Linked DNA regions of Homo sapiens: region 2 is linked to region 1. Evidence: promoter capture Hi-C in 16 types of primary human blood cells and fetal thymus (Javierre and others, 2016). All regions are on one chromosome and are shown on one strand. The core of a region is centred on a gene start or on the middle of the fragment in contact, and the rest is flanking DNA. Distances in the headings are between cores, read along the strand shown.

The links. Contacts are between HindIII fragments. The CHiCAGO score rates a contact against its expected background, and 5 or more counts as called.
Region 2: a contact is called between the fragment with the promoter of PRSS37 here and the fragment with the promoter of MGAM2 in region 1, in 2 of 17 cell types (monocytes and M0 macrophages). The highest score is 13.6, in monocytes.

The regions. Positions count from the first base shown.
Region 1 is chr7:142,107,164-142,114,549 of GRCh38, forward strand. MGAM2 (maltase-glucoamylase 2 (putative)) reads left to right here and starts at 4,555. Exons shown (of 48, transcript NM_001293626.2): 1 at 4,555-4,644. The HindIII fragment of the contact is 17,675 bases long and covers 1,156-7,386 here.
Region 2 is chr7:141,836,805-141,844,190 of GRCh38, forward strand. It overlaps PRSS37 (serine protease 37), which reads right to left and starts at 4,681. Exons shown (of 5, transcript NM_001008270.3): 1 at 4,212-4,681; 2 at 2,534-2,675; 3 at 1,056-1,309; 4 at 308-444. The coding sequence starts at 4,245. RefSeq lists a silencer at 947-1,151. The HindIII fragment of the contact is 13,045 bases long and covers 1-7,386 here.

The sequences.
Region 1 (7,386 bases), core at 3,305-5,804:
TGAACCTACTTCTCTGTGTTTTCTTCTTTTCTTATAACCAGGAAGCCATTCATTCTCCCTGCACACTCATGTGTCAGCACCTGCATAAGGCTAGAGACAAACAATATTGTTAAATCATCTAATTATCACAATACGGGGCATTTGGATGAGGGCCTGAGCTAACTAGGAAACTGGTGAAATATGGAAAAGCAGCCATGGGAATCCTTTGATCAAAAAGGTGGGAAACTTGTCAGCTTTCCTCTAACAAACTCAGGAAGGCCACAAAGATGAAAACGTTATTTACTTGATATTTAAAAAATATTTAATGTTACCATCAAGGATATGTTGGTGGAATTTGGCTCTGGCTGCCACAGAATGCTTAAGGAGAGGCATTCTGACTATATAATTCTGATGGCTAAGGCCCTAGTGAGGCCAGTGGGGTTTTGGAGCACACGAAGTGTCAGGGACCCCACTGACAGCCTAGTGAAACCTACGGAATTCTTCCTCACAACATTGTTTTTAAATGCATCAAGCAAAATGCATGCTATTTCAAAGAAAACTTATCATATTACGATACACTTATCCAAATATTAAAGATGATATAGTAACCCATGAGATGTGTTTTTTTCATTATCAAATTAAATGAAAAGATCCAACAGTGGAAGTAACAATGCTATAATTTCAATGTAATGATCAACATCAACAATATTTTGAGATATCCACTACAATTTCATAATGTAATATGGAAAGATCTGTGATTGCATTATTGACAAACTCATGTGCTATGAAAACTACTGTGTTTTGTTGTCTACATTCATAACCTAACAAAATGCTAAATTTCAGCCAGAAATGTGTGAAAAAGAGATTATCTGTTGGAACCAATATGGCTTACCGGAGTTAACGCAGAAAGAGCTTGCTGACGTCACAGCCTGAATTTCCACCACAGGTTCTTACTAACTCCCTCCCAAATTTGCACATGAGACCCATGATGAGGCATGAAGAGATAACTGTGCATGCCTGAGGACTTTCTAGATTTCCTCTTTCTTTTACCAATCACCTGCTAATCCCAGAATCCACCCCCTAAGTCTTTTCTGATAAAAATACTTCCTTAAAGCCAGCACAGGAAGACAGGTTTGAGCTGGACTCCTGTGTCCTGTGAGTCGACTTTGCAATAAAAGCTTTTCTTCGAAACCCTTTATCAGAGTATTGGCTTCTAGCGCATCGAAGAGTGAGCCCTTTCGCTCAATAATACCCCCAGAGGTTGTTCCTCAGATCACAGTCTGAGAACCACCTCTCATGGAACCATATCCATTTGTGGCCATCCCAGAGCAGCCCCTACAACATGGACCTATGCTTACAACTCCTGGCCAGCTATTCAGGAAGAGGCTGGGGGCCTTCCTTTTCCACATATGCTCTGTTTTTTAGATCACATAATTTTGCTTTCTTCATAGGTGTGCCAAAATAAAAAAAAAAACACTCTCAAACTCTTTCACTTAAATAGGAAGACATCTATTCCTTTCTTATTAATGTTATAACATTAAATGTCATATATACCTGCAAAGATAAGGTTATGTTGGCCGTGGCAGATGTCTTCAAGATCTCATCAATATTTCTTTGTTCTTGTCATAGCGGCAGAGTCACTGAGAGTTTTGCATCTGGCCTTGGAGAAAGGTGTTCTGGAAGTTAAGGGTGACTCATATTACTAGTTTCTGATCTGATGATTCCAACCAGCAGCTTGCTGTGACAACTGTTTGAGTTCCGCCAATAGCTAACTTTGCCGTGCCTTGTTACCGATAGACAACTGGAAGATGTCGGGTCACGTGCCTGTCTCTACCCTTCAAAGTGGCTCTGTTATTTTCTCATTGGTCAACACCAGTATGGTGATTCAATATCTTCCAGTTACTAGTTAGCAAGAATGGAAGGTGAAGGTAGCTATTTTCTGCACTTTAGGAAACAGGTTATAGATTAGCTGGGCCTGTTGGTTACCACTATTAACATAAATGAAGTCACAAATGTGCATGGCATGTGGGGAGTTAAAGGTAAAATATCACACAAAAAATAGATCTTATGTAACAATAAAATCTCCCTTCTTGACCTTTTGCCAGGATGTCTTCCCAATTTGAAATGAGATCTTGGTACATTTCCCCTCTAACAAAGGCCACCTTGTACTGGGGCAAATGAAAAGCTGAATATGTCATTCCAGCAGTTCATAAATGCAGAAACCGAGTCTCTCTTTCTCTCTCTCTCTCTCTGTCCCTCCCTCTCTCTCTCTCACTTTCTCTCTCTCTCTCCGTGTGTGTGTGTATGTGTGCTTTTCCACATACTGAGCATTTGAAGCAAACACAAAAGATTCACTACTGTGAACACTGTTATTTACAGTTCTTAGGTGCCACCAAAAGAGCTCTCTGTACCCTCATATATTACTGGCAGGAATGGGGGTGTAAAATGGTGCTGCCACATTAGAAAGCAGTTTTGCAGTTCTTCAAAAAGTTAAAGACTTGTCACATGACCCATGATTCCACTCCTAGGTATATTCCAGGCAGAATTTTAAAACGTGTCAGCTCATAGCAGCATCGTTCATAACAGGCAAAAAGTATCAACAACCTAGATGTATATCAGCTGATACATGCCTAAACAAAATGTGGTCTATCCACGCAGTGGATACTATCCAGACATGGAAAGGAACAGACACTGATACCTGAAATGGTGTGGATGAACTTTGAAAATATCATGCCAAGTAAAAGAAGCCAGACACAGATGGCCACATATTGTATTACTGCATTTATATGAAATGTTCACAATAGGCAAATCCATAAGGACAGAAAGTAGGTTAGTGGCTGCAGAAACAGGGGGAGATGGGAATGGGGAGTGACCACTAATTATTTTTGGGGGTGGCAAAAATGTTCTGGAATTAGATAGTGGTGATAGTTTCAGAATTTTGTAAATATATTTTTAAAAACACTGAATTGTATACTTTAAAAGAGTGAATCTTATGGTTTGGAAATTATATGTCAATTTAAAAATCCACTTTAGCTGGCTTAAGAAAAATTTTAAAAAGATATTGGTGACTCATTGAAACTCCGGTAGGACTAGAGAGTCAGGTTTGTAGGCCATGTGGCTAGGGACAAGCCCCAGGTTACCCTGTAGCGGTTTCTACTGCCACTGCCCTGAGCACATATCTGGCAGCTCGCAACCCCAAATACTGAGCATAGGATGCCACTAGGTCTCTTGTCCCTGCTGCCTCTGAAACGAGCTATGCTTCCAACATCCTGGATTTTACATGGTACCTCCTTATCTACACCTTCTTCTGGATGTAAGTCACTCACAGGAATATCTCATTCACAAAGCTCCAGCCACTTGCCTCTACCTTGGATGAAAGAAAGGCTGTGAAAGAGAATTTCTAGCTGTTTCTTTGGGGAGGCAGAATTTGGAGAAAAAGTCCTTAAGTTGATTTAAGTAAGAGGTTTTCTTTTTCTTTTTAAAGAAAGATCCTCCGTTTTTAAATTTTTTTCAACTTTTATTTTAGATTCAGGGTCTAAGATTCAGGGTGCATATACAGGTTCATTTCAAGGGTATATTGTGTGATGCTGAGGTTTGGGGTGTGATTGAACCTGTCACCTAGGTAGTGAGTATAGTACCCAATAGGTAGTGTTACTACCTTTGTCTCCCTCCCCACCTCCCCCATCTTAGCAAGAGGTTTTGAAAGATGCTGAGCCATCGAAGAACATGACAAATGTCCACTAGAGGCATCTTCCCACTTTAGGTTTGTATACATTCTTTCTCTTTTATTTTTTTTGAGATGGAGTTTTGCTCTCGTTGTCCAGGCTGGAGTGCAATAGGGCAATCTCAACTCACTGCCAGCTCCACCTCCTGAGTTCAAGCGATTCTCCTGCCTCAGCCTCCTGGGTAGCTGGGATTACAGCCGCCTGCCACCATGCCTGGCTGTGCAGATGGGGTTTCACCACGTTGGCCAGGCTGGTCTCAAACTCCTGACCTCAGGTGATCCGCCCACCTCGGCCTCCCAACGTGCTGGGATTACAGGTGTGAGCCACTGCACCTGGACGGGTTTGTATAATTGCTACTTTAATGGTACTTCACTATTTAGAATAATTGGTGGAAAGGATCATTTGAATTAATGAAAAGCTGAGTTATACCAAGAGAACTCTGGAGGATGAAAATGGAGAAAAGAACAAAGTGATGAACTAAGAGCTAATCCTTCTTTCACTTACTTATTAAATAAATAGCTATATATTTAAAAAGAACTATGGATATTGGGCAGAGTGCTAAGCACAGGAGATACAACAGTGAAGAAGATAGACAAGACCCTAGCTCTTGAGCCCTTTAGGCTACATGTATAGATGAGGAAACATAACGTGACAAGTAATCAGATATGAACAGGGATACAGAAGAGGGACAATGAGTAGAAAAAAAACCACCTTCCCCTTTTATTAACAAAAGGAGCTTTCATTCTGTGTCACATGGAGAACAAGCGTTCTTTTATGACCTATTGGAATATGCACTCCCCTCCTCCAGTTGCTGTCAACTTTATAAGGCAATAAATTAATTGTGGCAGAAGCTGGCTACCTCAGCCCAGTTACCTTTGCTCAGTGCTCCCTATGAATTGCTGAGGGAGAGATACAGCATAGAAAAAAACAAGGTGATGCGGTGAGTACGCTTCTCCATGCAAGCAGGGCTTTGAACAAGGGCAGGAAGGTCCCTTTCTTTTTGTGTGATTTTCTGTCTGCTGCTCTGTTAAGTGATCTGGATGCCCATGTTTTCCTTCTGGACTTAATATTTTCTTCCTTTTCCATAAAATATGAGGAGTGAGGATGAGATAGTTGATGGAGAGGAGAGACTGTGTGTGTGTGTGTGTGTGTGTGTGTGTGTGTGTGTGTGTGTGTGGTGTCAGTGTTTGGAGGACAGGTTGGGGGAGGTCTGGTGTGAGATCCTCCTCTCTCACTGGGAGAAATTAAGGACAGAGGAAACAGATGGGATCCTTCTGGAAACTATCTCAAGATGGCATGGATTTGGAGGAAGGTGAATTCCTCCCAGCTTTGGGCAGGAAGGGTTTCTAAGTAGGCAAGAATTTCTACCTTTAGGAATCCCCATCCTGTCCTCTGCCTGAATGACAATAGCTCCTAAGGCAGGAAAATACCCAGGGTTATTCCCAGAGCGTTCCTGTACTTCCTGAGCTAAGGTGCTGAACCTGCTCCCTCAGGAGGATTGAGGAGCTGTGGAGTAGGTCCCTGCTGCTGATTTTTAGAAGCTAGAAAGAAAAAAGTCTCCCTGTGGAGAGAAATAATACTTGCAGAAAGAGACCAATTGATGAATAATGCCTTTGCTGTGGTATTGAGTTGTGGGCTGTATGTATAAGAAACGAAGTTTGATACCATAGCACTCTTAGGGTAGGTCCTTCCTACTTCTTTCTCTACCTGAAATTCCACCATTGGAGACCGATCCTCTAAGTCTTTAAGCTCTGCAGCCTAGGATACATTGTCGAGAGAGTATTCAAGTACTATTTTAAAAAGTAGCGGCTCTCGGTGTTTGTCTCAGTTCCACCACTAACCGTGACTAGACAAAATTTCTTAATATTCATCTATAAAATGGAAATCATGATATCTGTCTGATCAGCTTCAATGCAGGGATTTTATGAGAATACAGTCATATGATATATATTTTATAGGGATTAGAGTATATCTTTTAAATAATTTAGACTAAAAGAGAGACAACTGATTAATTTAGGTAAATAGTAAAGAATAGTTAATAAACCTCAATTTTAATCCCAAACCTCGTGTCTCCAAGGGCTAAGGGTTCTTCCTAAATGCCTGTTGGCAAATTACCTGTAGGTCCTAGTTCCTTACCTCTATTTCAATATTAAAGTGCTTCTTTTATGGAATTATTACACATTAACCTAAAGGCTACTGTAATTAAAAATTGAAGCTATATACCTATATAAAAATATTTGTAGAAATGGTCGTGGCATTGGGGAGGAGTTGAGAAGAGCAGGGAGGCAGGGAAATGAAAAGTAAGAGGAGATGCAAAATCAACATAAAAATAAGAGAGAGAACAGTCTTTGTCCCTGCTGACTTATATTTAATAGCTTGTTGCTGCATAAGTGCTGGTTTAGTATGGTGGGAATATGGGGAGAGGAGACGCTGAGCAGCTGGGGTTAGGACGTGCCATGAAGACCTTTGATCACAAAGCTAAAGGGTTTTTGGTTTATTCAGAGATCCATTAAAGGCTTGAATATAGGAGATCCAAATGACCCTGTTTGTGCTGGTCACTTGGGTAATGACCCAAAGATACCGGGAAAGTAGTCTGACTGAACTGTTAACTGGCTGTGAGAACTAACAGAATGAGAGGAATTAAAAAAAGATTCCTAGGTTTTTTTTTTATAATGTGATTCTATTCCTCAAGTTATTAATTATTTGAAGAACAGATAATTTGGCCAAATTGGCAGGAACTGGGAGTGAGGTGTGGGGAGAGATGATTTCATGTTTAAACATGTTAAATCTTATTGAATCTGTGGGACATCCAATAGGCAGTTGAATATATGAATCTAAATCCCTGGGCTAGAAATACAGGTTGGATTGCCATCACATGTCATATAAAGTCACATGAGTGGTGGAGATTACCCAACGTGTCTGCGTAGTTTAAAAAAGAAGCCTATACCAGAATTTGGGGGGCATCAACATTTAATGAAATAGGGCTGAGCGTGGTGCCTCACGCAGGTAATCCTAGCATTTTGGGAGGCCAAGGCGGGCGGATCACCTGAGGTTAGGAGTTCAAGACCAACCTGGCCAACATGGTGAAACCCTGTCTCTACAAAAATATAAAAATTAGCTGGGCATGATGGCGGGTGCCTGTAGTCCTAGCTACTCGCGGGGCTGAGGCGGGAGAATCACTTGAACCTGGGTGGCGGAGGTTGCGGTGAGCCGAGATCGCGCCACTGCACTCCAGCCAGGGCAACAGAGCGAGACTCCATCTCAAAAAAAGAAAGAAAGAAAGAAGGAAAGAAAGAAAGAAAGAAAGAAAGAAAGAAAGAAAGAAAGAAAGAAAGAAAGAAAGAAAGAGAGAAAGAAAGAAAGAAATAGGAGACTACAAAGAATATTGAAGATAAGCCAGAAATAGAGGTGGAAAGCCAAGATTCCTATCAAGGAATCCATATGTGGAAAGTTTCATGGAGGAGAAAGTGGTTAAGTGATTAAGACAGCGCCCATTGTATTCAGCCACTATGTCACTAGTAACCTCGGTGGGAGCATTTCCAGTGGAATGCAGAAAACACAGCCAAGCCAATAACACATGAGGAAGGGAATACAGAAAGTGTGGAACTATCGTTTTGGAAGATTGGCACTGGAAAGAAAAAGAATGTTATTATGCTACCTGCAGAAGCACACAGAGTCATTA
Region 2 (7,386 bases), core at 3,431-5,930, 270 kb before region 1:
GCATTTTCTATTTGTGAAAAGTCTGATTTATTTTTAAAGAAATGCCTATTTTCACAATTTTGCTTGTAGTTATAAGAATGAATACCTAGGAAATGGTGTGCTTAACTGGAAGTACTTTATAATGTCCTTTAATGAATAAAGACAATTTAAGGGGATCCCATTACTGAAGAAACAATGCTGGCTTTGCAGCAGCCTTATCAAATTCTCAAAAAATTATTTAGACATCTAAAATAGTTTTTACATCAAGAGTCAATAGTTAACCGGGCATATGCAAGTAAATGAAAGCTGAATATAGAGATAAGATTACCCCAAAAATTCGGCTGAATACTTTCACAAATTTCACACATAAGGAATTCCTGTGGCTTTTTCCTTGTTCTGTTTTTTGGCATTCTCGATCAGACATCACGGGGGCCTCCAGGTTCTGCCGCAAGTCAGGGTGTCGGCCTGAGGGAGACGGGGATAAAATAAAACATCCTGTTGACAGTGGTTATTTTAGTCCTTCTGACCACCAGCCTCTATTTCAACTGGTATCTTTTTGTGTGTGTTTAAAGAAAATAAGGAATGCGACAAAGGAGAGAAATCATCAAGAGTGTGGTTATGAGCTAATCTTGAGGATTTTGAAAAAGGCTTTACGTCTCTTTAAGGTAGAGTATATTTTTAATTGGTGGCCTGTCTTGGAGAACTAAATGACCTGAGGCAATTCTCAGAGGTGTCCTTTACATGTGAAATGAGCATGTATGAGAAGTAGGACCACACCTTGTTCATGTGAATTGTGTCTCTGCCAATCAGGAATGGCTGGGCCTCTGTGCAGAGTCAGATGGCCTGGTGGCTCCAGCTGCCAAAGCCCTGCAGAGGCAGTGGGATATTAGACACCCTGGGAAAGGAGGAGCTTTGTTCCTCTGGGCAGGTCTCTGTTTGCCAGACCACTCAGGTAGCATCTCTATTGGGTCTCCTTTCACTCTCCTTTCCTCCTCTCTCCTCACAGCTATGAGGATATGGATGTTCCTCCTAAAGGACAACTGATGACCCTGATTTGCTGTGGAAGGCACACTTACCACTGTTTTCTTGGCTCCAGTCCAAACCTGAGAGTAGACAGACAGTGCCTGGCCTGACATTGGTGGTGGCGAGGGTAAGGGGCTGGACTTTGGGATTGAGCATGGCAGGCTTAGCCAGCTTGATGAGCATGAGGTCATCCTGTGGGGCGCTATGACTGTAGTTCCAGTAGCGGACGATCTGAATGGGGTTAATTGTCTGTTCAGTACCGTCTCTGACTCTGCTCTTGAAATTTCCCAGCATCACTTTCAGATTTCTGGAGGGAGAGGGGTTGGAAGTAATCATCATCATCATCATCATCATTGCTAAGATACTGAATGTTACAAAGTGCCAGGAACTGTACCAAGTGCTTTTTCTGGATTATGTCATTTAACTCACAACAAGTCTATGCAGTGGATTCCATTTTTATCCCCATTTAGCACATGAATTAATGGGGGCACATAGGAGTAATTCACTCAGGGTGATATAGTAAGTAGTGGAGCCCTTCACTACATTTTAATGTTGTGTTCTTTAATGTAGTGGAGAGGAAGAGGATGCATGTCAAGGAAATGTAATTTTCTCGCCTATCTAACTGAACAATGTCCATTTTGGTGGAGACCAGAGAATAAATAACCTAGTTCTGGGTGTCTCCTGTTTGGTTCCCTAGCTGATGCACTAACAGTCCTATTCCATTCTGCTCTGCACCTTTGGAAGGGGACATATATGGATTTAATCAGTGGGCTCTCTTGTCCTCTGGCTTCCTTCTATTGGCCAATAGGAAGCACCAGAAAGTAACTGGAGGAAGAAGAGTGAGATTGGAGTACTTATCCTCCCAGGTCCCTCCCTGCAGTTTTGTCACAGAGTGGCTGTGCTCCTTGACTAGGGGTTACAATCCTTATCAGGCTGTCTCCTCACACAGGTCTCGCTTTTTCTCTATCTCTCCTTGCCTCCTTTGAAATTATCTTCTCCTCTTGCCTTTTTAGGCCTAGAGGTGGTAACTGCATTTTCTTAATACAAACCCTGGTGGTATGGAACTATTCTTAATATTGTCCCTTTAATGTCTCCATACCTTTGCAATTGGTTCCTTCTTAAAACTCACCTCAATTGACCCAATTTGAGTGCATCATCAGTTACCTGCTAGATCTTTAAGTGATAAAATGCATTCATACTGCCAGTAAAAAAAAAAAAAGAAAAAAACTTATGAGAGTCTGAGGAGGCATAACATGTAACACAGGGTTCCTCAACAGTGGCACTATTGCTGTTCTGGGCTGGACAAATCTTTATTGTGGGGACTGTGCTGTGAATTGTAGGATGTTAAACAGCATCTTTGCTCTAGCCTCTCCCCATTAGATGCCAATAGCACTGCCCCCTGGTTGTGACAACCAAAAATATCTTCAGACATTGCCAAGTGTACCCTGTAGAGAAGTTACCCTTATATGAGAACCACTGATCTAGAATGAACAGTAGCTGTTTTGGGGATGGGGATGCCCAAATACTCAACGGTAAATAGCAGTGAGCTGGGGCCAGCACCCAGCTGGGTTTGATGAGGACGCCCACACAGGGGTTGAAGTGAGACTTGAGGTACACCAAATAGGGAGCAGGGTCTTCTTTCTGAACAGATGAGTCAGCAAAGAAAAATGTCCCTGAGAAAATAATGAACATTCTTAATACATAAATATTATAAAAATAAGGTAACAGTCTCTTACTTGAAAAGGAATCTGGATGATTCTTAAACAGTTATCAGTTGGCCAAGAAGTGTTAACGTATTTGACATGTTTTTCTAATAAAAATGTAAATTAAAACGATATGCCATTTTATCTTATATTTATAATAATTTTGTTTAATATTGATAATATTCAATCTAAGAGAGTATAATGAGAGACACTCATCACTGCTAGTAAATTGATTCCATCTTCTTGAAAAGCAATTTAGAAACAGGCATCAAGAATCATAAATTGTTTATAACCTGTGACCTAATCATTCCAACCCCAAGAATCCATTCTAAAGAAAAAAATCAGATATAGACAAGGATTACAAACAAGTATGCTCATGTTAGCTATAACAGCTGAACACTGGAAACATAAATATCTGACATAGTAATGTTGGACATTGAAGCACATCAAAAAGTGGAACATCATATATAATAAAAATTAAACTAATTAGAATATTAAACAGCAAAAGAATATTAATGCTTATTTAAGTTAAAAAGAACAAGAAAATTGTGGATATAATCTATTTGTCTAAAAACAAATAAATAAAAACATTTAAATGCAAAAAATATATAGATTCTGAGAGTAAACTCAAAGTGTTAGCATGTGTTGACTAAGAGGTGGGATTATGAATGATGCTTATTTTTCTACTTTAAAAATGTCTAAATTTTGTAATATGAACATATATTGTTTTTATAAATGAATTATTTAAAACATACCCTAGAGAATAAAGGGGAGGAAGGCTGATTCTAGTATCAGAAATAAAGCCCTCTTCTTGTCTTGGCTTCTCTTGCTACTCCTGTTAACCTTCCCCAAGACTGGGTCTGTACCTCACCACACCCTTCTGTGTGATCACACAGTTAGAAACCCCAAAGAGAAAAGGGTAGACTGTAAACAAGGGCAAGAGACATTGAGCTCTCTATAGCAGGCATTGTTCTAAGTGCTTTACATAGATTTATTTAATCTTCACAATAGCTCTATAATATGGGTAGTCATACCCCCATTTTGAAGAAATTGAAGCACAGAAGAGTTAATTAACTTGGCTAATCTCACACAGCTAATGTGTGATACAACCTAGGCAGTCAGAGAATGGTGGGAAATGCCTCATCTGCAAATTCTGCTGTCAGAAGAACCCCATGTGGGGCAAGGACTACAGAAGGTAGGGTCCTAGTACTTGATCTTTTGTTTCTACTTCTCTGTTTTCTGCATTAGTGTCGGTGGGAGGACACTCACTGTTAAGCCTTCTCCAAGGCACATGTGTGCCTTAACCCACCCTATAGCTTAACACTAGAAAAGTGGGCTCAGCCTATCCGGAGAGCCTTTGGATGGAGTCTGAGAGGCAGGACTCCTAATTCTGCTGATGACACTATTTTTGACTCTTTTTCTGCACCCTTCGCAATCCTGCCTCTGTCTCACCCCATCCATTAAACTGTGCCTTACAGGACAGAGTACAAGGTCTTGAGTACATACCAGCGAGGACACCCAAATAGAAGACATATTTCATGGTGATCCAGCTCTTCCCCCTGTGAGATGTAGAAGAAAATCAGCAGAGTGTGGAGCGGTTGGCTTAGTTGTCTTCTCAGGAACACCTGGTAGACTCAGTGGCTATGGTTAGATACGGAGGCACTCCATGGGATTGGAAAGCAGCTCTGGGCATAAACAGGGGAGGGAGATGGCTTCAGAGAGACAGATGAAAGCCCTCTGTTCCAGGGAAGGTGGAGGACTGTGCCTCTGTTGGGGCATTTCAGGGAAGGAAACTCCTGGATTCAGCTCCTTCTATCTGCTGCCCCTAAAAACACATCTGTTTGAAGGTAGTTCAGTTGTCTGTGGAAATGGCAGCTCTAGGCTCAGGACTTATCTTCCCCACAGAGTTTCTGAGACCAGGGCTATGAGGGACAATATTCTTTACCTTAGCTCAGGGAGTAAGTGTCCTGAGGTTTGCTCTGAACCTCCTAATAGTTACTTATACTTTCCCCAGCCCCTCCCATCTTTGTTACACTAGCTTCATATGTCCCTCTGATCACTGTTTCATCACTCAGTCATCATCACCAACTTGGTGTTTTTTGTCCTGAGCAACAGCATTGAGCCAAGAAAATATGGAAATGAAAAGCATTCATAGAACAGTTATCTTGATAGTTGGGGAATTGTTTACAGTCTAGATGACATTAGGCCTGGTGACAATTCAGAAGGCAGTACCTCTAATACTTAAAGACTTAGACCAATATTAGACTACCAAAGTCATCCTTGGATAATTGGGAGCATAGTCTAACAAGAAAATGAGCGGTAACACTAATAGCTGATATCCTCTAAGCATTTACTGAATCCTAGGCACTGAGCTAAGATCTTTACGGACTTGTCAGTAGAGATTTTATATCAGGTTAGTCTGAGATGTAAAATTCACTACACTTTGTATCACTCTAACCCTTTAAAGTTTCTTAAACCCATAATCTCTTTCCAAATGTCACAACAACCCTAGAAAGAAGAGATAGGGCTGGGTCTGGTATCTATTTCTGGTCTGTGGGTGGCAGAACTGAAGCAGAGAGAATCTAAGTAGTTTTCCCAAAGTCACATGTCGTGGACAATGAGAAATAGGCCTTGTCACTGGTGTAGGGTTGCAGGTCCCCCACCAGGATACTTAAGGGTGTATGACCACTGCTTGAACCTTAATGGCTAAGTAGTGAGTCAAGGACACGGTGCCCAGCCAAGAAGCAGGTATCCTTGATGGCCAAGTGGTGAGTCAACGCCATGGTGTCCAGCTGAGGAGCAGGTGTCCTTGAGTACCCAAACATCCCAGAGAATACCTGAGAACCTATCAAGGAAAACAGTCCCATCATGCACACACAGTAGGCAAAGAGCCAGAAAATTAGCTTAAAAGCAGCTTAGAGATGGAAAGCAGGGCAGGTCTCTAAAGGTGTCCTCTGCTATCTAGGAGTGTCTCATATGTAAGTCCTAATAAACTTATCCACTGGCCAAGCTGGACTTGTCTGAGTCATTCTTTGGTCTCTTGGCTCCCTCCTAGTTTGGGGGAAAGGTTTTTTTAAAAATATGATTCTGGATTTTTCTTGTTACAATTGGCATCACAAATGGGGTCAGAGAGACCAAACTTCGAGCCAGGAATGAGTGTCTATGGTGGGGAATCCCTGGGCAGTCGGCAATGTCCATGTGGAGTGGAGTTGCCCAACTGCACAACTTTTGTGGGCCACTGCATGAGTACAGGGATGCTTGGAAAACATGGGCAAGGACTGAATACCTATTGCCAAGAAGCCAAGATATTAAAGTATGATAATGATAGTAAATGTGGTGTTATTGCAATAAGGCTGGCTAATCACAAATCATTAGAGCAGGAAAGGGAGAAAGGGTAGAAACTCCAGCAGAAGCTAAAAGGCATGGTTTTCTAATCCTCCAGCTGGTTACATATTATGGCCCTTTCTTGTGTACATTTTAAAACTGACGGGCAAATTACAACAAGAAAAATTCAGAGCTCAAATGTTTAATCTACAACTATAGAGTTAAGTAGAGTCTTCTAAAGCTCTCTATTTCTCTTTCCTTTTCTGCCTGCTTTGAATCTACTGTTAATAAGTTACTGGTATTGAGATAAAACTCACTAATTCAAGGTCAATTTGAGATTTTTTTTTTCCTCATATGGTTCAGCCAGTTCTAGCTAAAATGTAAAGAATTAAACTCATTTGGAACTGAAAAAAAATGGATAAAGGAGGTTTTTAAAAATCAAACTGCCATAGAAACTGCTTTACCCAAATTATTGATCCACTGCTTTCCTTGGGTTACCTATTGGGGCAAATAAAGTTTAGCCATGTGAACAGGTCCCAATTTTATCAAAAATAATCTGGATCCAGCTGTCTTTTATATAGTAATGAGTTTGTGAAGCTAGAATTCCAAAAGCTATTGGTAAAAGCTATCGGATCTTGCATGTATATGTATAAACATGTTTAAATGTGTTATGTGTATGTGCATGTATTATGCTATGTGTTATATCTAGCATGGTACCGAATAGCTTATAAGTAAATACGTACTCATAAATTAAATAAGTCCAGATGCTCTTCAGGTTCACGTGAATTCAATAATCTTTGGTGAATAAGCTGGCTTCAAAATTTTTGATAAAATAAAAGTAGAAATGTCTTCAAAAGTGTCAGCATACATTTTTGTCTGAGTTTCTTGATTAGATAAGTTGTATATTTGCCCCTCCTAGATAGTTTAAGGTGTCAGGTTTCTGACATGAAGGTTCTAAGACTATAAATCCACCCAAAACAGAATGATCTTTGTGTGATTTTTTTGATAAGCAAGATTAATTTGATATTGTCAGTTTAATTAAAACAGCTGAATTTTCTGAGTTATTGGTAAAAATGCTTATGTCTTTAAGTTTCTTGATTAGACGAACATCTGATATTTATAAGCCATTAAAATGGTTAACAGGGAAATAACTCGTAATGATTATTAGCTTTGTCTAATAAGTCTAATGAGCTTTCGTTCTCATGAGTAATCCAGATAAACCACTAAAAATGAATAAATTCAGTAAATGTAAATGAGATAAACATAGGTAAAACTTTTTGTGTAGTTTAAAATCTTAAAATTATTTTAGCTACTCATTGAATGTCTGGGTCATTTCCAGTTTAGAAAGGGTTATGAT